Linked DNA regions of Homo sapiens: regions 2, 3 and 4 are each linked to region 1. Evidence: promoter capture Hi-C in human tissues and cell types (Jung and others, 2019). All regions are on one chromosome and are shown on one strand. Each heading gives the region's core, a stretch centred on a gene start or on the middle of the fragment in contact. The rest is flanking DNA. Distances are from core to core; before and after follow the strand shown.

Region 1 (6,232 bases), core at 1,796-4,295:
GGCCAGGCTAGTCTCAAACTCCTGACCTTGTGATCTGCCTGGCTTGGCCTCCCAAAGTGCTGGGATTACAGGCATGAGCCACCGCGCCCGGCCGACAGGCTTCTTTATCCCATAAATATCTCTAAATCCCATCATCAAAGAGGCAGATTTGAGAACTGTTCTCCCACCTCTGCACTTGGCAGCCTTGTAAATACATGCTTTCTCTGCTGCAAGACTCATCATCTCAGTGATTGGCATACTGTGAGATGGACAGAACAGGCCTGGTTCTATATCAATAGTGTGGAGGAATTGTTTCATTTTATAGACCAGTATCGTCAGCTTCCTCAGGAACCTTTACTAACATGGATAGTGAGAATAACTAACTTAGGGGAAACATCTTTGGTTTTAAATAATGCAGAGTGGAAGAACATGTTTGGGTTGATGTAGTACCTACAGGTCACTCTTCAACAATTGCAGATAGGTATGTATCATCCACACACACAAGAGTTTATTCCTGAAGGAACAGCCAGCCTGGGTGGGTGTATAAAAGCTACTCTGAAGTCTGTCTACTCGGAAAAGCGGGACTGTCTGACTCCCCCTATAAATGCCAAGTGGGGCTCCCCAGATGAACCAGCTTAATATGCTTCCCATGCAAGCCATGTGGAACTGGCATTATGATGATAGGAATATTTACCTACTGAATATGTTTATTACCCAGGTCATGGTAAATGTCTTGGTTTGGGGAACCCCATTTTCTTGGGCACCTTATGTAAACTTACTGCTGCAAAATTGAGCTATAGTCAGTCTTACCAAATTTGCTTCCTATTATGGGCCTTTCAGATGCTAATAAAACCATTAGATTAATTAATAAGATAGACAATGATGAAAGGTACAGGGGAGAGTCAAACAGCTCCTTCCAGGAAGGTAGAAATTTTTAAATAGTTATAAAGAAATAAGACAAATAAAGAAAACATGGATAGGAATGAAACTAAGAGGAAAAAGAAAAGGGGGAAATCATGATACTCATCCCAGCATGGTGGAAATCTTTAGATGGCTATTAGATGGAAATTAGATGAATAAAATAAAAACTGATCGGATTAAAACAAAATTCTGAATATAACACTATTGAAGGTTGGGTGGACCAAAGGAAGTTCCTGTTGATCCCCCAACATTAAAGGGCCTTAAGCTAAGTTGCTGTAGTTCCTGAAGTTTGGATAAATTTTAAAAGCCAGAAGGTAAAGATATAATGAGAAACCCCACCTGGAATGCCTAGGGTGATGGTTAGACTGGTTAATCAAGGTAGCACTTGGAAAAAAGGCCAAAGTCTCCTGGCCTGAACCCTGGGTGGAAACCTGAAGACATCTGCACAAGAAAGGGTAAAATGGTCTGGAGAGAAGAGTCCTGGGACTACAACATAAAGTAAAAGTTGACAGGACTATGAAAGTTGGAATGTTAAACATGCTTTTTTTTTTTTAAGTTGTACTACCAATAAACTGAGTTCTTTCCCTACTTTGTATTGGTCACAAAAAAAAGAACACCCAATTTGGGAAAAAAAAAAAAAAAGGCAAGCAAGTTTTATTTCTGAGCAGAAATGGAGAATGAGTAAGCTCTTGCTCTAAATGCCTCTTCTCCCTGAACATAGAAGACATAGGTTTTTTAAGAACTGAGCGGCTGGGTACAGTGGCTCATGCCTTTAATCCCAGCACTTTGGGAGGCCGAGACAGGTGGATCACCTGAGGTTGAGAGTTCGAGACCAGCCTGACCAACATGGAGAAACCCCGTCTCTACTAAAAATACAAAATTAGCCAGGTATGGTGGCTCATGCCTGTAATCCCATCCATAACATTAATTTATTAGGCAAAACACTCCTTGCCATGGAAACAGAAATAAAGAATAGTCACAAAAAAAAAAAAAGAAAAGAAATAAATAAAGTCTGTTTTATCTAATACAAAAAAAAAAAAATAGCCACTTCCCAGCAATAACATGAACTCCTGGATTTAAGACACAACCAATATCAACAGGTGGAGAGCATCTTCTGCATACGTGCCCCACCTTTGAAAACTGCAGCCATTTATCACTACCAAAATAGCATTTCTTTCATTGGTCTTCCTGTAAGATTGATAAATCTTAGATAAATTAATCCAGAATTAATTGAATATAAGTTGGAATCTCAAGCGAGGGATACTAAGTGGATAAAAGTGTTGCTCAATGTACTGGACACTATGATTGATTTTATAGGCAGGAGAGTTGTCTTCTGTGGGAATCACAGACAGAGATTCAGCATGTATTCCTGCTTTAGGGAACACAACATTTCTCCTCTATCTTCCTTGTCTTGTCCTATCTGGATTAGTTCTCTCTTGTCCCTGACAGACTGAGAAACTGACTCTAATGCCTCAGAGTGCATTCATGTGAATTTATAACACAATAATGTTTATCAGCCTCTGCTGCCAGTACCGGGATTTTGCGACTGAAAGACTGTTCAAAACGTTATGATAATTTGGATTTTTAGTCTTTGGGGGCATCCTAAATAATAAGTTTAGCATCGGAGAGCTCGAGTTCCCCAAAATCTAAAATAATATTTTTTCAAATACTTGAGTGATCAGTTACAGACACTAATCTCCAAAAATCTCAATACGGGTTCTAAGGCTAGGTGAGACTATCCTCTACCCTAGAAGGACATGCACTTTAAGGACAGGCCGCTGAGATGGAGCTGGGCCTTTCCTGCAAGTAAGTGAACGTGATGGTAGGGTATACCTGACAGCATAGTTTGACAGGGGATATAGACTTTCAAGGAGAAAATAGACATGAAATAGATACATGCAGAAGTATAGTCAAATTGAGGGAAGATGACACTTAGGCCAGAGTAGTGTTTATTCACCACTCTGTGCAATCAAGCGCCTCTGAGAAGGCCTTCTTTACCGCCTTGGAACTGTCTTGGAACCTGAGGAAACTACATAACCCAGAAATCTCTGCGTCGAATGACAGCGCGTCAGAGCCAATGAGGGCTCAAAATAAAGGCGTTTCCGCGGAAACAGTATAAAGGTGGGACTTCCGGCGTCCTCTACTAGTGGCCATTTTGATTGGTGTTGGGTGTATTTTCCAGTGAGAGACCGCGGAGTGTTGGGTCGTGTAGAAGTGACTGAACCCAGAAGGTGGAGACGAGACGTTGTCCCGACTGCACAGAGGCTGCTCTGCAGCTCCTTAAAGGCGCTAGGCGTGACCCGCACCAAGGCCGGGATCGGGACCACCGTGCCCGGGTACCTGCACTGCTCGCCCCCTCCTTTCGACCCCGCTTTCCCCACCCAGTCGGATGGCGGCGGCCGCGCTGAGGCCCCCGGCTCAGGTAATTGTGGCGTCTTCCGTGCCCTCAGGTCACCTCATCTTTACCTAAGTCCAAAAGCAGAGAGGAAGCGGCGCCTGCTCAAGGTTTTACACCCTGAACCCGGCGTCGGGACACTGAGGCGCTCTCTATGGGCCCCCGTTTTTGACACCCGCGGGATGCGCTCAGGAGAGCTACAGGCACAGGGAGCGGTGCAGGCAAAGGCCTGGAGATGAACTGAGCCGAGAGGATCGTAACCTAGGGTCCACAGGCACCTGTCGGGAGCAAAGTGTGAGGCAGAGCTCCTCCTGGAAGAGCAGGCTGAGGACCGTGTATTCACCCTGAGAACGCTGGAAGCCATGGACAGCTTCCAACAAAGGAAGGAAAAGATCAATGTCCAGGCTTTAAAGGTTTCCCAAAGTCCAGTCGAAAAAGAACACAGGGGATGACTTTTGGGCCCTGGGAGGTTGAATTCTTGTTCAACCTCTACAGATCAGATAGGTGCTAAGAGATGACATTTTGTACTGAGGCGCTCAGTTCAGACAACCAACTCGCGTTTACCTAGTTACAGGGCCAAGAAAGAGTTCAGGGAGGCCTGAGCTTATCAAATCTCATCAGGGATACATTCTTGTAGCTTGTGCCTCTCCTCTCAGGAACTCCTGGCTGCAGAAGCACTTGCAGAACCTCCGCAGGGAAGCGGAGGGTGTTATTCCCTCACTGGCCCTAACTCCTATCCACATGCTCTTTAGATTGGGATGTCCTGGGATTCTTAGGTACCTTTTTTTTTTTTTTTTTAAGTTTTTTGATATGGGAACCCTGGAGGAACCTTAAACCCAGGATCCAAAGTCTGTGACACAGGATATATGGAGGTATTCCCATTTCTGTCAACCAGTATAAACATACTTGGAAGGTTAACCCAGGAGTTAGTACCAGGATGTGAAATGCTTAGAGGTGAAACTGACCAGAGGGAGGAGGTGATGTTGCCACAGTTTCATCTGGCTGTAGTCTCCTCTGGCTGTACAGTGGAGAACAGACTGTGGGGTTGAGAGAGGAGGAAATAAGATGAGAGTTGAGGCTTTTGCCGTAATCCAAGTGAGGGTTAACAGACTAAGATTCATGGCTAAGGAGATGTGGCTGGATTCAAAGTTGATATTTTGTTACAGCATCTAGGTTTCCTAATACACAAAGTAAGGGCATGAAGAGAGCAATCAGGATCCCGAGGTTTTTGGTCTTAGTAGCTGTAGCTATGGAAGCTGCATCAGCTGAGATGAGCATGTTGGTAATAAACATAATTAGAATATTATGCAAATATCAGGATGACTGTTATGGCCATATGAAGAGTCAGAGACGAATAAGTGTAGGCATCAAATGGCTATGGACATGCAGGTTGGGGTATCTGGAAAGGGATTGACACTGGAGACATCTAATATATGGTAGCTAATGTGTATGCTATGGTGAGTGAGCCATGGGTCACATTAAGGAGAACACACTTCAGATTCTGGTGGTAAATCTTTTAGGGGACCAGAAAGCAGTGGTTGAATGATGAGGACTGCATCTGTTGCTTGGGTCCCTGGGTAATGTTACTGGGCTTCCTAAACACTGGAGAGGTAGGTAAGTGACCATGATGGTAGGGTATACCTGTCAGCATAATTTGACAGGGGACATAGACTTTCAAGGAGAGAATAGACATGAAATAGATATATGCAGAAGTGTAGTCAAATTGAGGGAAGATGACACTTAGGCCAGAGTGGTACTTATTCACCACTCTGTGCAATCAAGATTTGAGATGACTTTGGTAGTGTGTGGGGGGTTTCATTACACGTGCTGAATATGCTCAGGGAGAAATATGGTCATCTGTGACAGTAGGTCTTGGGCCTTAAATGGATTAAAAACAGGACTTTTTTTTTTTTTGAGACGGTGTCTCACTCTGTCGCCCAGGCTGGTGTACTGGTGTATAGTGGCGCAATCTTGGCTCATTACAACCTCCACCTCCCAGGTTCAAGTGATTCTCCTGCCTCAGCCTCCCGGTAGCTGAGAATACAGTTGCGTGCCACCACGCCCCACTAATTTTTTTTTGTATTTTTAGTAGAGATGTGATTTCACCATATTGGCCAGGCTGGTCTCGAACTCCTGACCTCATGATCCACCTGCCTCAGCCTCCCAAAGTGCTAGGATTACAGGTGTGAACCACCATGCCCATCCAGGACTGCTCTTTAAATGGCAATGGTATTAGGTGAATGGAAGTTGGTCCGTGTTGCTGAAGGGTAAGCCATTGTAGCACAGAAGTGGAATAAGACCATGGATATCTGAAGTTACATGTGGTTTTGCATGGATGTGGAGTAATGCAAGGAGGCATTCATAGAATTATTAGGGACTACCACTGCTAATGGGAACCATGGTCATTTTGTGTTATTATTGGATCCTGTTTGAATATGTGAAGCATATTGGATGCTGTCAGCCATATTGTGGTATAAAGCCAAAAATGGAGGCCCAATATGATGTGTCACCTTGACATCTAGTGATATTGGTATGACCTCAAATGACCTGAGAACCAATTCCCTTCCCACTAGGCTCTTTTAGATAATAATCAGCATGGCCTAATAATCCTTTTATTAGGGAGACCAGGCAGAATTCCTGGTTATTATACTTTGTAGTGAGTTTCAATTTTATCCTTACCCACAGTGTTATTCAAACAAGCCAGTTGCATCCTCCTAAGGGATTCGGGGGTCATCACACCCTCTTCATTTTAAAAGCTTGCATATCATAGTTTCTGGTTATGCACTCTTATCCATAGTGCAACCCCTATGTGGTCCTTCATGATGAGGGATGTCCTCTTCTAGACTTTGAGTGTATTTGATTTTTAAACATATTTATAGCACCTGTCTAGTGTTTGATGTCATGTGTTTGGTCATTAATATAACTGTAAGGTGAAAA
Region 2 (6,232 bases), core at 1-2,500, 490 kb before region 1:
ATATATTTGTAGTGTTTTTTAAATATATTTCTTTGTATTTTTGTATTAATTTTTTAGTGGTTGCTTTAAGTAGTATAATGTACATATGTAACATAATTACAGTTAATGGTATGAAAAATTTAGCACTTTGATGTATAGAAACCTTACTTGGTCCCTTCACCTTGCCTGTTAATATAATTGTCTAAAGTAATTCCTCTTCAAAATTGAGCACCATGTTGGAAAATGTAATTTTTGCTTCCACTGTCAAATATATTTTACAAAAGTCACAGGAAGTATTGCTTGTTGATCTCTTTACCCATTCCACTATTCTTTCTTGAAATTCTAAGCCACCTTCTATTAACATTTTCTTTCTGTTTGGCGAACTTGTGTAACCTTTTTTCTAGGGTCAGTCTGCTGGTGTCTCTAAAAGTGTCTTTATGTTCCCTTCATTCCTGAGGGATATTTTTGTGGGATAATAGGATTTAGGGTCTGCAGTTCTTTTAGTACTTGAGAAACATGTTTGTTCCTTCTGTCCGCTATGGTTTCAGATGAGAAATCTGTTGCCATTTGAACCATTGTTCCCTAGTTCATAATGTGCCATTTTTATCAACCTGCGTTCAAAGTGTTTTGTTTTTTTTGTAGTGTTCAGAAGTTTGGTTATGAGGTGTGTGACATGGAATTTTTTTGAGTGTATCATGTTTGGTTTTTGTTTAGCTTTTTGATTTGTCGGTTTATGCCCTTTGCCAAATTTGGGAATTTTTAACCATTATTTCTTGAAATATTTTTTCATCCCTACTCTTTCTCCTCTCTGTGATATGAATGGTAGAGCTTTTGTTACTGTCTCAGAGGTCTCTTGTGCTTTCATGTTTACCCCCTTTTTCTGGTCTATTTTTCCCTTTTTTTCATATTGGTTAATTTCTGTTGACTTTTTTTCAGCTCACTGATTCTTTTTTTCTGCCATATGCAGTCTACTGTTGAGCTTGTCCAATGAGTTTTCGTTTTGGTTTTTGTATTTTTCAGTTGTTTAATTTCCATTTGTTTTGTTTTGTTTTGTTTTGTTTTTTTGAGACAGACTCTTTGCTCTGTTGCCCAGGCTGGAGTGCAGTGGCGCGATCTCTGCTCACTGCAAGCTCTGCCTCCCGGGTTCATGCCATTCTCCTGCCTCAGCCTCCCGAGTAGCTGGGACTACAGGTGCCCGCCACCATGCCCGGCTAATTTTTTGTATTTTTAGTAGAGACGGGGTTTCACTGTGTTAGCCAGGATGGTCTCGATTTCCTGATCTGGTGATCCACCTGCCTCGGCCTCCCGAAGTGCTGGGATTACAGGTGTGAGCCACTGTGCCTGGCCTCCATTTGGTTCTTTTGTACATCTTTGATTTCTTTGCTTAGTTTATAATACTAAAGGGCTCAGAAAACAGAAAAAACTAAATTCCAGAGTCATGGTTTTCTGGTGGTTTGTCTCAATATTTGAATAGAAATCCTAAATTATCTGGAGGAGTAGAAGTCCTGTAATCTTTTATATTGGGCTTCTTAAATATTTCTGTCAACAGATCTTATATCAGGGTGATCTGCATATCATTCAGAGTTACGTACTCCACGGGAAGGTTGTATGTAAAATCCTCCAGCTCTGTAAGCCTTGTTATATCCTCAATGGAGAAGGGGTCATTCCTTTTCTAAGATCACTCTTACACTTTTTTATTAGACACACACACACCCTTCCCCAACCAAACTTGTCTAAGTCCTCTGTCTTTCATACTCTTGTTTAGTCTTTAACTTCTCCTTATTAACCAGCTTCTTTCCCATAATGTATAGCTTTAGTCGGATCTCAAGCCTCGTTTCCAACCTATTTCACCCTTCCTTGCCTATCAAGCTCTGGTTATTCTTTCTTCCACACACATGCCCTGAGTAACTATTCTGTGCACTGTCGCCACCCCTTTACATTTCCTTTTACTCCCCAGATACTACTAAATGGCTTCCACCACCGTTGCCTGACTTAAGCACGTCTCAGAAAGGTCCCTTTTGACCCCCTCACTCTCTTTTTGGACCTCCATACTGCTAAATCTCTGACTTGAAGGTCCTTTCCTGGCTTCTGTGAATTCCTGGCTTTTTTCCTTTTTAGGGTCTGTGTCTTTCTTCCATCTGTAAAACAGCTTTACTTCCCAGCATCCATCATGATCATTGCTGTTTTCTAACTTGTCCTTCACCCCATGACTGAGTTAATTTGCGCTGAAGACACTTTACTCTCAATTATCTACAGTGTTTCCCTAAATCTGTGTCTCCAGGTTGGATGTTTCTCATGTCGTTAACCACTGGTCATCCTTCCACACCTTTTCTGTATTTGCACTCACTGAGCCTATATGCATGTATCATGTGGCCATGACCTTGGCCGTGGGGATGCACCCATAATCATCATAAGAGAACACAAATTATTACTGTGTATCAGACATTGTTTCGAATGTTTTACATGCGTCAGCTCTTTTAACCTTTATGACAACTCCATAATGTTATTTCCCCCCTTTAACTGATTAGAAAACTGAGGTACAGAAAGATTAAGGAATTTGTCAAAGATTTCACAATTATGAAATTTGGGTTTGGGGACTGGAAGCCACTGCACTGGCTTCAGAATCCATGTCCTTAACCACTTTATTGCTTCTCATAAGGTGGGTCTTTGTTTCCTGGTCATCACTTGTTTTTACTAAAATGGGTCAAACTGTGCTCATTTATTTATAATCTACTATTCTTATTTGACAGTACATCTTGGCCATTCCTTCAAGCAAATGAGATAAACCAGACTCACTCTTTAATGCCTGCATAAGCTATTGTGACTGTAGAAAAGACGGAGAATGTCTGGGTTTGAGGATATGTGGGAGGGGTGGGGAGAAGGAGTAGAGAAGGGCTAAGGCATGCATGTTGTTTTAGGTGTGTTTGAGATGCCTGAAGAACATCAGTGTATCCCCCTAATTTCTGTCATGTTACTCAAACCAGACACATTGTGGCCATTTCTTTTTCCTTTATCATTCCCACGTCCGGCCACTGCCCCATTCCTTTTTGTTCCGTAGTAGACCCTCAATATATATGTGTGTGTTGGTAAATGGCCATACACAGCAGGGTATTTTTTATTATTATTTTCAGTTCCCTCAGCGCGTTTACCACAAAGCTGTGCATATAGGTGGCACCATATATGGCGTACCTTGACCTCGAAGAGAATCTACATGGACTTTTATGGACCTACGTACACAATTTTAGAAATCATAATAAATGAATGCTGGAGTCCTCAAGACCCCTTCCAGATTTGATTTGCTAGGAAGACTCACAGGACTCAGCATTTTGTCATACTCAATGGCTATGATTTACCACACCGAAAGAATCCAGAGCAAACTCAGCAAAAGGCTCAAACCCAAGTCCAGAGGAAACCAGGCACAATCTTTGAGAATCTTAATGAAATCACACAGGATGTGCTTCATTGAAGCTCCATCTGGGACTTAAAACAACACACGTGAGATGTGTTCCAGGAAGTCGTCTTGAGCACCCATTGCTCAGAGTTTATATTGGACTTGCTTTCTAGCACATACCACAATTGTAGACCTCCAGAAGAACAGGAGGTGTTCAGCGTAAGACAATTTAGGCACACGGAGCTACTTCTCATTACTGGGAACAATGGGAAACTTCCCAAAACCTAAAGTACAGACTCCAGCCAAGGATGAACCTTGCAAGATCAAAGAATAGCAGTCTCTGGCCTGCTCTGTTCTCTTTTTCACAGTAACTTAAATGGAAAAATGCTGAGTTAGCTTAAGTTTCTGTAACAAACATTAAGCAAATAAAATTTTCTATAACAGAAATAAGCCATAGCTTTGAGATGAAGGCTTATATACGTGTAAACCATTGTAACCAAGAAAAAAAAAAAAAGTCAGAGTCACAGTGAAAATACTTAACAAACTAGCCAGGATTTAATTCAGTGATGACAGGGAACAGAGGAAGTCTTGTGAGAAAGGATCTTGCCTCTGCCTAGTATCTTTCACAGATAGGCTTCAAGTGGTTTGATTTGCAGATACACCCTTTCTTGGCCTTTATTTCGGCAAAGATGTGATGGGTAGGTAAATGCCGTGTTCTTTCCCTAGCACGTATGTCAGTTTCTCATCCACTCTTTGTTCTTGCTATTGAAAGTTGTAGCTTCTGGCTACAACAGAGATAGTTGAAGAATATGGAGTTCGCCATAATTTATCATTAAATGTGGATAATTTGAGATTAAAGAATATGTTGTTGCAGGCTTAGTCACTTTGATGGATCTGTCTGTGAGTTTCACTTGGAGGAAGTGGGAGCAGTTGGCTTCAGCTGAGAGGGCCCTTACAGAGACATGATGCTAGAGACCTTGAGAAATCTGGTCTCTTGTATATGTAACTCCTCTTTGTACTCAGACTCCGGCCCACAGATAGCCTTTCCTTTCCACTGTGGAAAGTTGGGGAGGCTCCACAATGCTCAGTGATGTATTTCAATTTTGAGAATTGAATATTTTTAATGATTGCTAAGAGATGGATTATTTTTGCTCATAGCAAAATCTGTTTGTGTTTCATATCTCACAATTGGAAGGTCTCAGCTAAATTGTAAATGGACAGTTTCTTTTGCCTCTTTCGGAGTAGTGTCAAGAGTGTGGACCTGGGAGACAGACTACCTGCTTATACTTTCTGTCCTTGTTCCTACCTGCTGGAAAGGACATTCATAGCCACTCTGCCTCACTTAAATTGGAGATCCATGTATTCACATGTTTTTATTATGCTGGCTTTGAGAGAGAAGATCTCACTGTCACCCAGGCTGGAGGGCAGTGGTGCGATCATAACTCACTGCAGCCTCAAACTCCTGGGCTCAAGTAATCTTCCCATCTCAGACTCCCAAAGTGCTGGGATTACAAGCATGAGCCACTGTACTGGCTATTCTGCTGTTTGGCAAGTGGAGCCTTGCTGATCCTGAGAGACTGCCCATCCCAGGACTAGCTAATTTTAAGTGGTAGCAAAGGACTCCCCTGGGTATGTGCCTTTGATATGCAACCAAACAATTCAGTGCCCATTCCCTTCCCCCACCCCCTTTATCAAGGCCTCACACATGGAGCCACTATCTTCCTGCCATAACCACTCCAGGGTCAGATATTAAGCAAGTAGGGACAGTTCCTAATGAAATTCAGGCCTGTAATCTCAGCACTTTGGGAAGCTGAAGTGGGAGGATCACTTGAGTCCAGGAGTTTGAGACCAGCTTGGGCAACATAGTGAGACCCCATCTCTACAAAAAGATATAATAATTAGCTAGGCATGGTGGTGTATGCCTGTACTCCCAGCTACTTGGGAGGCTGAGGTGGGAGTATTAAATGAGCCCAGGAGGTTGAGGCTGCAGTGAGCTATGATGGTACCACTGTACTCCAGCCTAGGTGACAAGAGTGAGAGCCTGTCTCAAAATAAAATAAAATTAAAAAGCCAAGCCTAACCCTGCTTAGCTTGCTTACCTTGTCTTGACCATTCTTACCTGCAAAAGCACAGTGAAGGTTCTTGCCCATGCTTTCCCCCAGCTCCTGCTGTTTTTCCGATCCTGCTGCTTCCGCATGTGGTCCTACACTGCCTGGTGTGTGCCCCTTTCTTGGGAAGTGTGTGTAGCTAAGCATCTCTTCAATGGCAGTATCTCCTGATCTGTTGGCCTCACCATACCTGAATAATAAAATTGGCCTCTCAAAATGCCACCTCAAACCATTACATGGAAGTTACATTTCCGTGTAATTTCTAGAGTACTGGGTACCTACATCAGGCAACATGGTATAGAACCATGGATTGGAGGATGGATTGATGCCAAGGAGGGACTGTTTAGGTGAATTACTAGGAACCAGACATCCAAGGGACCACTGTGTTGGTGGGATCCCAGTGATGTCAGTAGTCAAGACTTTAGAAAAATAGTTCCAGATGCCTTTCTCATTGTTGGACACTTCTGAAAAAGGCCAAGCACAACTAATTGAGGGCCCCAGATATACAAACATTATTCTGTCATTTCTCCAAGCTGTTTGAAGTTTGAAGTTTGTCTTTCTGTATATTATTTCCCAGTCCTACCTACATCATTTGTTCTTTTTTTTTTTTTTTTCTTTTTTCTTTTTTTGAGATGGAGTTTTGCTCTTGTTGCCCAGGCTGGAGTGCAATGGCGCAATCTCGGCTCACCGCAACCTCTGCCTCCCAGGTTCAAGCAATTCTGTCTCAGCCTCCCGAGTAGCTGAGATCACAGGC
Region 3 (6,232 bases), core at 979-3,478, 390 kb after region 1:
AAATTCAGAAAAGCAAAAGCAGAGTTCATTTCCAAGGATACTAGCCAGAGGAATTAGAAAATGTTGTTCTTCAAAAAAACCCCAAGAACGAAGGAAGGAAAAACAAAGGAATTGATGAATATGATGAATGTGGGCTAGGTGTGGTGACTCACACCTGTAATCCCAGCACTTTGGGAGGTCGAGGTGGGGGGATCACTTGAGCCCAGGCATTTATGACTAGTCTGGGCAACACAGTGAGATGTCATCTCTTAAAAAAAAAAAACTGATGAATGTATATTTAAATCAAATCCAATGCTGACCACATGAAATGCAGAAATCACGACTTGGAATTAATGGGATAGACTAATATACTAGACAACAGTGGCCAATGAGGTGGGAATGGGGCAACAGAATCAAGTGTTCTGAAGTCCTCAAGTTTCTCATGATTCATGTTAGACCTGCTCAAGTCAGAATTAAAAGAATAAATGTAGTATAAAACATCTAAGCCCACAGAGCAGTAGTTTTTAACCAGGGATGTTTCTACTTCCAGAAGATACTTGGCAATATCTGGAGATGATTTTGGTTGTCAGTCTGACTAGGGGGCAGATGTTCCTAGGAGCCACGGATGCTGCTAAATATCCTATAATGCACAGGATGGACTTCCACAACACAAAATGATCCAGCCCCAAATGTCCATAGTACTGAAGTTGAAAAACATTGTAGAGGGAGGTCAGAATTAAAAACAAAAACAAACAGACAAAAAACCCGATCAATCCAGAAAGCTGGTAAGGGGTAAAAAACAGCACAAAAAGGACAGACTAAATACAAAGTGTAAAGTAAGGTATCAACAATTACAATAAATATAAATGGCCTTGATGGGTCAGATAAAGACTGCATTAGACTGTATTAAAAAACATGTTTGTAACAGGTATTCCTAAAGCAAAAGGACATAAAAGCCAAAAGTGAAAGGATGGGACAGGTGAATGCCAAACAAAGAAGGGTTTTGTGGCTCTTTACAAACCAAAGAAAAATTTCAAGTGAGGATCACAGGGCAATGTAACAGTAACAACATGCCTCAAAACACAGAGCAGGCCGGGCGCGGTGGCTCATGCCTGTAATCCCAGCACTTTGGTAGGCTGAGGCAGGCGGATCACTTGAGGTCAGGAGTTCAAGACCAGCCTGGCCAACATGGTAAAACCATGTCTCTACAAAAACACAAAAATTAGCGAGGCATGGTGGCACATGCCTGTAATCCCAGCTACTCCAGGAGGCTGAAGCAGAAGAATTGCTTGAATCTGGGAGACAGAGGTTGCAGTGAGCCAAGATTGACCCACTGAACTCCAGCCTGGGCAACAGAGCAAAACTCCATCTCAAAAAACAAACAAACAAACAATCAACAACAAAAAAACACAGAGCAAAGCCAGCTAGGTTTGTAGGAAGAAAACAGCAAATCTAAGGATAGTGGGAAATTTTATTTATCTGTTTTTTGAGGTTTTTTTTTCTGATCAAGTAGCTCAGATTATATTTAAATTTTAAAAAATGTTTTAATGTAATTGTTTAATTTTTATAATGGGGGTCTCAGTATGTTGCCCAGGCTGGCCTCAAACTCCAGAGCACAAGCGATCCTCCTGCCTCAGCTTCATGAGTAGCTGGGACTATAGGCACATGCCACTGCAACCAGCCATAGTGGGAGGTTTTATTTTATCTATTTAATTTTTTTTTTTGAGACGGAGTCTCACTCTTGTCGCCAAGGCTAGAGTGCAGTGGCACGATCTCGGCTCATTGCAACCTCTACCTCCCGGGTTCAAGCAGTTCTCCTGCCTCAGCCTCCCGAGATGGGATTACAGGTGCCCACCACTACGCCAGCTAATTTTTGTATTTTTAGTAGAGACAGGTTTCACCATGTTGACCAGGCTGGTCTCGCACTCCTGGCCTCAGGTGATCTGCCTGCTTCGGCCCCACAAAGTGCTGGGATTATAGGCATGAGCCACTGCACCCGGCAGGTGGGAGGTTTTAATGAACCTCTTTTAGAAATGAAAACGCAGAAGAATGGAAAAGAGTTATGCAGGACAGAATGTAGTTACCCAATCTGATCACACAGCTGGATGAAAATCTACGTACAAATTAAAATAAAATGCTTTCTTTCTAAGCACAAGTGGAATATTTGCTAACACTGACTAGGTCAAAGAAAAAGTTCAACAAAGCCCAGACTACAGCCTCTTGACTTCGAGGCAGCAAGTTAAAAGCCAGTAACAGAAAGAAAACCAAATATAATAAAACAGCGAGTAAAGCAAACTCCTATTTATTTGGAAAAATAAAAACTTGTTTCTCAGTAATTGACAGATCAAAGAGAAAACCTGATAGAAATTACAAAACACCTAGAACAGGCCACGCACGGTGGCTCATGCCTTGTAATCCCAGCACTTTAGGGGGCAGAGGCAGGTGGATCACGAGGTCAGGAGTTCAAGACCAGCCTGGCCAATATAGTGAAACCCCATCTCTACTAAAAATACAAAAATTAGCCAGGCATGGTGGCGCATGCCTGTACTCCCAGCTACTCGGGAGGCTGAGGCAGGAGAATCGCTTGAACCTGGGAGGCAGAGGTTGCAGTCAGCCGAGATCATGCCACTGACTCCAGTCTGGGTGACAGAGCGAGACTCCATCTCAAAAAAAAAAAAGAAAAAAAAGAAAAGGAAAACACCTACAACTACACAATGATGAAAACAGCACATCTCAAAACATGTGGCAAATGAGAATGCAGAATGCAGCTAATAGTTCCTAGATTGAAAATGCTGGTCTTTAATGCCTATATTTTAAAAAGAAGGCTAGGTCAGGCATGGTGGCTCACACCTGTAATCCCAGAACTTTTAGAGGCTGAGGCAGGGATATCACTTGAAGCCAGGAGTTTGAAACCAGCCTGATTATCATAGTAAGACTGTGTCTCTATGAAAGAAAAAAAAAGTTAGCTGGGTGTGGTGGTGTAACTCGCCTTTAGTCCCAGGTAGTTGGGAAGCTGAGGCAGGAATATCCCTTGAGCCCAGAAGTTCAGGAGTTCAAGGCTGCAGTGAGTCATGATCGCATCACTGCACTCCAGCCTGGGTGACAGAGTAAGACTGTCTCCAAAAAAAAAAAAAAAAAAAAAAAAGGGACTAAAGATGAAGTTACTGTGGGTCCTGAAGCTACAGATGGCAGCAAGTCAACAGCCATGGTGGTCTCCAAGGCTGCCCACAGATTTTCTTTAGGCCATCGCTGATGGGTTCTATGTATCATTGAAATGAATGGCAATAACACATTCTGGGATGTGGGTAACGCATGGTGCCCTCAGAATGGTCTTGTTGGCTTCACTGTATGACTGATGATCCTCCAACAATAAACAACCTACTGCTTGTAAACTCATTGGACAAGCCATAAACTCAAAGTGATATGTACCTTATTCCACCACTAGAAAGAAGATTCAGGAGTAAGTCCCACCTTCAACACCTTGTAAGTACAGATAAAAAAAAAAAAAAAACAGTTTAAACATGTAAAAAATGGGACTTTTTATGTAGTTGTACTTTTAGGGCTCACCATTAACTTGATTATAATTGACTAAAAGAAAAGAAGACCGAAGACTAGTGATCTCACTGTTCAATTTACAACTTATGGGAAAGAACTATGGACTAAACCAATGGGAGGTAGAAGGAAAGTGTTAATAAAAATCACAGCAGAGGCTGGGCACGGCGGCTCACACCTATAATCCCAGCACTTTGGGAGGCCGAGGCAGGTGGATCACCTGAGGTCAGGCATTCGAGACCAGCCTGATCAACAAGGTGACACCTCGTCTCTACTAAAAGTATAAAAATTAGCCAGGCATGGTGGCAGGTGCCTGTAGTCCTAGCTACTCGGGAGGCTGAGACAGGAGAATCACTTGAACCCAGGAAGCGGAGGTTGCAGTGAGCCGAGATCGTGCCACTGCACTCTAGCCTGGGTGACAGAGCAAGACTGCCTCAGGGGAAAAAAAAAATCGCAGCAGAAATTATGGAAATTAAAAACAAGAAACCAGTTGAGAAAATGAAGAAAACCAAGTCTGTCATTTGAAAAGACAAATGAAAGAGACCATTAAAAAACAGCAAGAAAAAGGCCAGACATGGTGGCTCATACCTGTAATCCCAACACTTTGGGAGGCTAAGGCAGGTGGACTGCTTGAGGTCAGGAGTTTGAGACCACCCTGGGCAACACAGTGAGACCCCATCTCTACAAAAAATACAAAAAAAAAAAAAAAAAAAAAAAGCCAGGCGTACTGGTATGCACCTGTGGTCCCAGCTACTTGGGAAGCTGAGGTGGGACAATCGCTTGAGCCTGGGGGTCAGAGGTTGCAGTGAACGGAGAGAGTGCCACTTCACTCCAGCCTAGCTGACAGAGCAAGACCCTGTCTCAATAAATAAATAAAATTTTTTAAAAAGCAAAAATGAACACATAAGTGATATTAATTGTCAGACAGGGGTTTAACTAACAGTGTAAGGTTAACAAAATGGCAAAGTTGGATTTATCCTAGGAATGTAAGGACTAGGAAACATTGGAACATCTATTAACACAATTCCCCATATTATCAGATTAAAGTAGAAGACAGCGCCCTTACACCTTATCCCAATACATTCAGAAAGTAATATGAAAAAAATCTCACCAAGACTCATGATCAAAATACTCTCAGATTCAAGTAATAGATCCTTTATCTCAAAAATTCAAAAAGTACTTTAAGGAAACCTCAGACTCCTAAGGAAAATTCTTAATAATTAGGGTCATAGGAAATTAATGTGAACATCACACCTTAAACATCAGAAAAAAGGAAACATCAGAATCATTTACTTTCAAGTCCAGGCCAAGGCCTTAGACACTTGCTATGTACACAGCATTCAGCAGTGATGTGGAGGGGCCAGCCAGTCAGGAGGACCATGCTCCCAGCTGTCACCCCTGGATGCTACAAGGACCCCTCCCGTGGAAAGGGCTCCTGAAGCTGCCCTGCCGCATGACATGTTTCCTGTTCTGAATCTTCTGGATAGACTGGGGCCTGGCATGGTCTGTGGCCATCCTGTGAAAACAAGGGACTTGAAAGCACCTCCCCGCACGTTTGTGAAGGGAAGATGCACACGTACAGTTAAAAGAAATAAAATAGGCTGGGTGCGGTGGCTCACACCTGTAATCCCAGCACTTTGGGAGGCTGAGGCAGGCTGATCACATGAGGCCAGGAGTTTGAGAACAGCCTGGCAGACACGGCCAAACCCCATCTCCAGTAAATATACAAAAATTAGCTAGGCATGGTGGTGCACATCTGTAATCCCAGCTACTCGGGAGGCTGAGGCACAAGAATCGCTTAAACCTAGGAGGCGGAGGAGACAGAGCAAGACTGTCTCAAAATTTAAAAAAAAGAAAAAAGAAAAAAAGAAAATAAAAGATGAGATAAATCAGACATATACAGGGTGATATCATTTATGGAATTTCTTCAGACACACAAAATATTCTCTTAGAAATAAAAATATAACGATGCCTTGGCAAGACACCAACCAAGGCTGTGATTACGTCTCTCTTGGGGGTAGGGAGGCTAACTCGCCTTGAGGAACAAAAGGAATGTCCATTTCATCCATAACAGATACTTCCTTTGTTGAAATAAAACTTAAACACCACCAAGAAAGTGAAAACACAACCCACCAAATGGGAGAAAATATTTATATTATGTGTATCTAGAATATCGAAAACTCTTACATTTCAATAATAAAAAGACAAAAACCCAATTTTTAGAAATGGGCGAAGGATCTTGTCTTAGTCTGGGCTGCTACAACAAATAGACTGGGTGGCTTAAACAACAGAAATCTATTTCTCACAGTTCTGGAGGCTAGGAAATCCAAAATCAGTGTGTCAGCATGATTGGTTCTGGTGAGGGTCCTCTTCCTGGTTTGCAGATGGCCACCTTCTCAGTGTGCCTTCACAGGGTACAGCAGGAAGCAGGAGCTCCTGAGAGCTCTCCTGTCTCCTCTTATAAGAGCACTGATTTCATTCAAAAAGGTTCTACCCTCGTGACCTAATTACCTCCCACAGGCCTCATCTCCAAATACCATCACAGTGGGGATAAGGCATCAACATACAAATTTTGAGGGGACACTACATTCACCCCATAGGAGTTCTGAATAGATATTTCCCCAAAGAAGTCATACAAATGGCCAATGAGCACATGAAATGATGATCAATATCATTAGGTATTCGGGAAATGCTGATCAAA
Region 4 (6,232 bases), core at 1-2,500, 380 kb before region 1:
GTAAGATCTTCCCATCGTTGCCCATTTCTCACGGTTTCCCTCTTCCTTCAGGGTCCCCTGGCGATGGCAGAAATGAACCCTGCACAGGTGAGTGGAGTGTTTTCTACCTTTCACCTACCAGTTATCTCATAGATGGTTTTGGCACCTCCATGTAAAGAAAAGTGGTGTCCAGAGACTCTCTTTCTGTCTTTCTCCCTCTCTTATGTCTGAAAAGTGAGTGATTCCACCAGTTCTAGTATCTTAAATTAGGTCTGGGATTTTTGTTTGATTGTTTTAAGTTTACTGTGACACCTTACCTGGATGGCCCTGGATTATGTGGAGTGGCTCCCATTTTTGACAGTTGACGTGGTAACATCTGTCAGAGTGTCATGGGCACAAGATTAAGAATGTTTCAGTGTTTAGAGGAGAGACTGAACTGGATTTTTAGGGAACTGCAAGTGTCTGTTATATCGGATAGGAATAGGGAGCAGAGTGGGAGGTGGCTAGAGACACACAAACATCAGGCCTGGAATGACAGCCTAGGTCCTGGGTCTCTAATCTAAGGGAGGTGGTAGATGGGGAAGATTTGAAGCAGAAGAGGGCAGTGATAGGACCCTAGCTTAAGGAACTTTCTTTGGCGTCTGAGTGGAGGACAGACTGTGGAGGTGAGGGTAATGGCAGGGAGATCTGAGAGGATGTTCCTGCAGCAGTCTAGGTGGATGTTGGTGGTGACTTGTCAAGAGTAGCGGTGGCTTCAGGATGTGTTTTGAACTGGAGCTGCCCACATTTTATGATGTAGAGAGTGAGGCAGCTGGGGGGGTGGGATAGAAGGGGAATCAGGAGTGGCCCCATGGTTTTTGTTTGGAAGCATAGATGCTCCATCAGCTAAGATGGGAGAAGTCAGCAGTATTAGGAATTTTCAGAGTGAGTGTGAGGAGTCAGTGTTTGTTCAAGCCACAGATGTCTCAGAGACTCCTGGTGGAGGAGTTCAGGTTGGAGACGTCCACACTATGGTGGCTGTCGTATGGACCAGGATGAAGCCATGGATTCAGTTTAGGTGACAGCATCTCTAGGTTATGGTGGCAGTGCTGTTCGAAGACAGAGAATTGGAATGGGGCATGAGAACTGGGTCTCTTACTGGGTAGCTGTGCAGTGGTGGAGGAGTCACTAGACAAATGAGGGAATGGAGTGTTTGTGGGGATGAGTGTATGTGAGATGGTGGGGTATAGGAGTGAGAAAGACTTCTGAAGGAGAGTGGACATGATGGGGTTGCTGAGGAGGGTAATAGGGTGAGGTCGGAGAGTTGCTAAGCATCAGTTGGAATGAGATGAGGATGGGAATTCTATTAGTCTGTTTTCATATTGCTACAAAGAACTACCTGAGACTGGGTACTTTATGAAGAAAAGAAGTTTAATTGACTCACAGTTCTTTTTTTTTTTTTTTTTTTTTTTTGAGATGTGGCCCAGGCTGGAGTGCAGTGGCACAATCTCGGCTCACTGCAATCTCTCCCTGCCAGGTTCAAGCGATTCTTCTGCCTCAGCCTCCTGAATAGCTGGGACGACAGACTCACCCCACTACGCCCAGCTAATTTTTGTATTTTTAGTAGAGATGGGCTTTCACCATGTTGGCCAGGATGGTCTTGATCTCCTGACCTCGTGATCCATCCTCCTCAGCCTCCCAAAGTGTTGGGATTACAGGCGTGAGCCACCGCACCCAGCCCATAGTTCTTCAGGCTTAACAGGAAGCATAACTCGGAGGCCTCAGGAAACTTACAATCCTGTGTCCATGAGGCAGGACACAGCTGAGAGTATGTGAAGTCCTCACATGGTTTGGGCACCTGACAGTGAAGTGAGAAACAGGGCCATGTAGGGAACCTTCAACCCAGGGCTTAGGGCTGCCCCCGGTGCTAGGGAACTTTGGTGTTCTGGGGCAGGACTGGGAGTGAATTGGATGCTGAGCGTATTTGCCGTGCACCACCTGGTTTCTGTGTGCAGAGTGGCCTGTTAGGAGGTGAAGGAAATGCCTGTGGTGTGGGCTGGGAGGTGTCTGTGGAATTGACTGGAGTGGAGGTGTGAGAGATGGGATTGGAGTGCTGTCCAAAGAGTGATGTGCAGGCAGGAGGAGTGTGAATGGAGGGCCTCAGGCCCTGGCCCTGGTAGCTCAAGGGAGGAGGATGAGTCTGAGTTTGGTTGTCTTGGGAGGCAAGATCTGGGTGACTCCATGGAAACTGGCTGGCAGGAGAGGATGGATCCCCCCACGGGAGGCCCACATTCCTTTTCTACCTTATCTTCCATCTGTTTCCTCTGTGTGCTGGACACGGTGGCCAATGTCAATATGGAGAGAAAAGTCACTCATGCCACCTGGATGTGGTTTCTCTTCCACATTGGGAGGGTGTAGAGATTGAGGAAGGAAAGGAGGTGTAGGGGAGAGGGATGAGTTCCTGGAGAGAGAAAAGTAGCAGTGATTGTACCCATTGGGGTTTTTTGTTTTTTTTTTTTTAGATGGAGTCTTGCTGTGTTGTCACCCAGGCTGGAGTGCAGTGGCATGATCTTGGCTCACTGCAACCTGCACCTCCTGGATTCAAGCAGTTCTGCCTCAATCTCCCAAGTAGCTAGGACTACAGGCATGTGCCGCCATGCCCACCTAATTTTTGTATTTTTAGTAGAGATGGGATTTCACTGTGTTGGCCAGGCTGGTCTTGAACTCCTGACCTCAGGTGATCTGCCCGCCTCAGCCTCCCAAAGTGCTGGGATTATAGGCATGAGCCACTGTGCCTGGCCCCCATGGAGTTTTAATTTATGGATGTGAGTGAGTGATGCCAGGGACAGGCCAATGACACTGAAAGAAGATATTTATTCCTTACGTTTCCCTAAGGAGGTTACATACCACATAACACAGGGCCACACGGTGAAACACCAGATTTGATCAGGAGGAAAATTGGAGTGAGTTTAGTTTAGTCCACAGATGCTGTTGGGGTTTCCAAGGGAAACAAGGCAGGGCTGGCTGTCAGGATAGTTTGGCTAGTTTTAGTAATTCCAGGACACCTGGGCTATTGGGACTGTCCCTAGTTGTGCAGTACCTGTCCCTGGGTTGATTTAGAGCATGGGAAATACTGACTTGGTTTGAGAAAGTTAGAGATGGAGATGGTTAAGAATATGTGCCCAGGATGGTAGGGGAGATGGAAACACATTTAGCTGTTAGTTTGTCCCTGTGTTTAATGGGTGGTAAATATAAGTAGAAAATAAATAGAGAACTTAAGTAAATACAGTTTGAAAAGCTGCTCATGTATTCATCTTTCCCAATTTGGCAGGGTCATGTGGTTTTTGAAGACGTGGCCATATATTTCTCCCAGGAGGAGTGGGGGCATCTCGATGAGGCTCAGAGATTGCTGTACCGTGATGTGATGCTGGAGAATTTGGCCCTTTTGTCCTCACTAGGTAAGGCCCTCACACTTGCCCAGTGTCCTGGGTTGGGCTGTGTTGTCTCCTTTTACCTGAAGGCAGCTCTGCGTTTCCCACAGTGAGACCATGGGTGCTGCTTCTTTTCCTTGTTTCCTGACATATGTTCCATGAGAGTCAGGACTGCAATATGTGCTGTGTGCTTCCTTTTTCCTGGCAGCCCCATCCTCTGCTGTTCTGAGGCTTGCAAGAAAGGGCTCAGGATCCAGAAATGTTGAAGGTGACATAGAGACCCACTGGCCCTGTGTTCTATTCAAATGCATGAGACCTCTGTGCTCTGTTGTTCCCTTGCTCTTGCCAATATTTCTTGGTCCCTTCTTGTTCCTGGAATTTCTGGCACTGACCTGATCACTAATTTGGTGAACCACTGGCTTGATTGTGTAGGATGTAGAAATCTTCTGTGAAGTTCTGGTGATTATCGAATGTGAGATATCATCAGGTGATCTCTCTGGGAATGTGCTGTCTTGTCTCTTTCTGTGTCTTTCCCCTAGGACTGGTCTCTTTCAGGTCTCACAGACTGTCACCTTAAGCAATGGGGAGGGCCCTGGTACCCAAGAGGGTGGATATTACTCCCTGAAGGGCTGTAGAGACTCAGAGGGACATGATCCTGGTTCCTGGGAGTTGGGAAAAGGTGTAATATCACAGCTGGGGTCATATTACTAGGAATCTGTCTGGTGACCCCTGTTGTTTAGTTGAAGACTGGTTGCCACAACTCACTCTTCTTTTCCTTCCCCCGTTGTCATTTTTACTCTGACTTCTAATCCCTGGCTTCCAGCCGTTACCTATTTTCTTCAACTGCTCCCTCTGCAGTGCCATCCACTGCATGACCTGTACTTAAGGTGAGGTCTGCATGTATTTGTCAGTAGTCCCTGAACACCATCTCCTCTGTCACAATCAGATCTCTCTGGGTTTAGACACAGCCTTCTACACACTGCTCACTAGTCACCAGCAGCCATGGCCTGTGGAAAGCCATTTGCAGAGAAGTGACTTGGAGACCCTCCTCCTCTCTGCACTGTACCCCTCTCTTGTGTTCTTACCCATCATCAGGGCTCTCCCATTATGGGTATTTGCCAGGTCCAACTCTGCACAGCAGGCCTTCTTCTCATTGGCCTTAGTGTTTGTATTACTTCATTCTCACTCTGCTATTAGGAAATACCCAAGACTGGGTAATTTCTAAAGGAAAGAGGTTAATTGACTCACAGGTCCCCATTGCTGGGGAGGCCTCAGGAAACTTACAGTCATGGCGGAAGGCAAAGGAGAACTAGGCATCTTCTTCACAGGGCGGCAAGACAAATGAGTCCAAGCAGGGAAAATGCCAGACACATAAAACCAGCAAATTTCATGAGAATTTACTCAGTTTCATGAGAACGGCATGGGGGAAACTGTTCCCATGATTCAGTTCTGTCCACCTGGTCCCACCCTTGACACGTGGGGATTATGGGGATTACAATTCAAGATGAGATTTGGGTGGGGACAGAGAGCCTAACCATATTATTCCACCCCGGCCCCCCCCACCCAATTTTATGTCCCTTCCACATTTCAACACCAATCATGCCTTCCTAACAGTCCTCCAAACTCTTAATTCACTCTAGCATTAACCCAAAAGTCCAAGTCCAAAGTCTCATCTGAGATGAGGCAAGTCCCTTCTGCCTATGAGCCTGTAAAATCAAAAGCAAGTTAGTTACTTCTAAGATATAATGGGGATAGAGGCACTGGATAAATGTACCTATTCCTAATGGAAGAAATGGGCCAAAACAAAGCCTACAGGCCCCATGCAAGTCCAAAACCCAGCGAGGCAGTCATTAAATCTTAATGCTCTGAAATGATATCCTCTGACTCCATCTCTCACATCCAGGGCACAGTGATGCAATAGGTGGGCTCCCACTGTCTTGGGCAACTCTGCCCCTGTGGCTTTGCAGGGTACAGACCCCCCCTCAGCTGCTTTCATGGGCTGGCATTGAGTGTCTCTGGCTTTTTCAGGCACACGTTGCAAGCTGTTGGTGGATCTACCATTCTGGGGACTGGAGGACGTGGCCTTCTTCTCATAGCTCCACTAGGTAGTACCCCAGTAGGGAGTCTGTGTGGGGGCTCCGACCCCACATTTCCCTTCCTGCAGTGCCCTAGCAGAGGTTCTCCGTGAGTTCCACCCCTGCAGCAAACCTCTGCCTGGACATCAGGCATTTCCATACCTCCTCTGAAATCTAGGTGGAGGTTCCCTCCCAAATATCAGTTCATGACTTCTTTGCACCCACAGGCCCAACACCATGTGCAAGCCACCAAGGCTTGGGGCTTAAACTCTGAAGCAATGGCTGGAGCTGTACCTTGCCCCTTTTAGCCATGGCTGGAGTTGAAGCAGCTGGGATGCAGGGCGCCATGTCCCGAGGCTGCATAGAGCAGGGGGACCCAGGGCCAGCAGCTGGGATGCAGGGCTCCATGTCCTGAGGCTGCACTGAACAGCCTGGGCCAGGCCCACAAAACCATTTTTCCCTCCTAGGCCTCTGGGCCTGTGATGGGAGGGGCTGCCGGGAAGGTCTCTGACAGGCACTGGAGACATTTTCCCCATCACCTTCGTGGTTAACATTCCACTCCTCGTTACTTATGCAAATTTCTGCAGCAGCCTTGAATTTCTCCCCAGAAAACGGGTTTTTCTTTTCTATTGCATAGCCAGGCTGCAAATTTTCCAAACTTTTCTGCCTTGCTTCCTCTTGAACACTTTAGCACTTAGACATTTCTTCTGCCAGATACCCTAAATCATCTCTCTCAAGTTCAAAGTTCCACAGATATGTAGGGCAGGG

The links. Contacts are between HindIII fragments. The study calls those that stand out against the background at their distance.
Region 2: a contact is called between a fragment that was not itself captured here and the fragment with the promoter of ZNF776 in region 1, in 1 of the 25 tissues and cell types used here (hippocampus).
Region 3: a fragment that was not itself captured here is called in contact with the fragment with the promoter of ZNF776 in region 1 in 2 of the 25 tissues and cell types used here (aorta and liver).
Region 4: a contact is called between a fragment that was not itself captured here and the fragment with the promoter of ZNF776 in region 1, in 2 of the 25 tissues and cell types used here (H1 embryonic stem cells and dorsolateral prefrontal cortex).

What each region holds. Positions count from the first base shown.
Region 1 is chr19:57,743,770-57,750,001 of GRCh38, forward strand. It overlaps ZNF776 (zinc finger protein 776), which reads left to right and starts at 3,046. Exons shown (of 3, transcript NM_173632.4): 1 at 3,046-3,322. The coding sequence starts at 3,290. RefSeq lists an enhancer at 3,058-3,107. The HindIII fragment of the contact is 15,716 bases long and covers 1-6,232 here.
Region 2 is chr19:57,258,480-57,264,711 of GRCh38, forward strand. It overlaps ZNF805 (zinc finger protein 805), which reads left to right. Exons shown (of 4, transcript NM_001023563.4): 4 at 1-4,249. Among named protein-coding and RNA genes, the nearest start is that of ZNF460-AS1, 19 kb to the right of the region's middle. RefSeq lists an enhancer at 4,730-5,263. The HindIII fragment of the contact is 9,939 bases long and covers 1-6,220 here.
Region 3 is chr19:58,133,585-58,139,816 of GRCh38, forward strand. All of the region lies in intron 3 of ZNF329 (zinc finger protein 329), which reads right to left. Among named protein-coding and RNA genes, the nearest start is that of ZNF329, 14 kb to the right of the region's middle. The HindIII fragment of the contact is 9,893 bases long and covers 1-6,232 here.
Region 4 is chr19:57,368,493-57,374,724 of GRCh38, forward strand. ZNF547 (zinc finger protein 547) reads left to right here. Exons shown (of 4, transcript NM_173631.4): 2 at 52-87; 3 at 3,290-3,416. The coding sequence starts at 64. Among named protein-coding and RNA genes, the nearest start is that of ZNF547, 8.1 kb to the left of the region's middle. The HindIII fragment of the contact is 8,803 bases long and covers 1-5,652 here.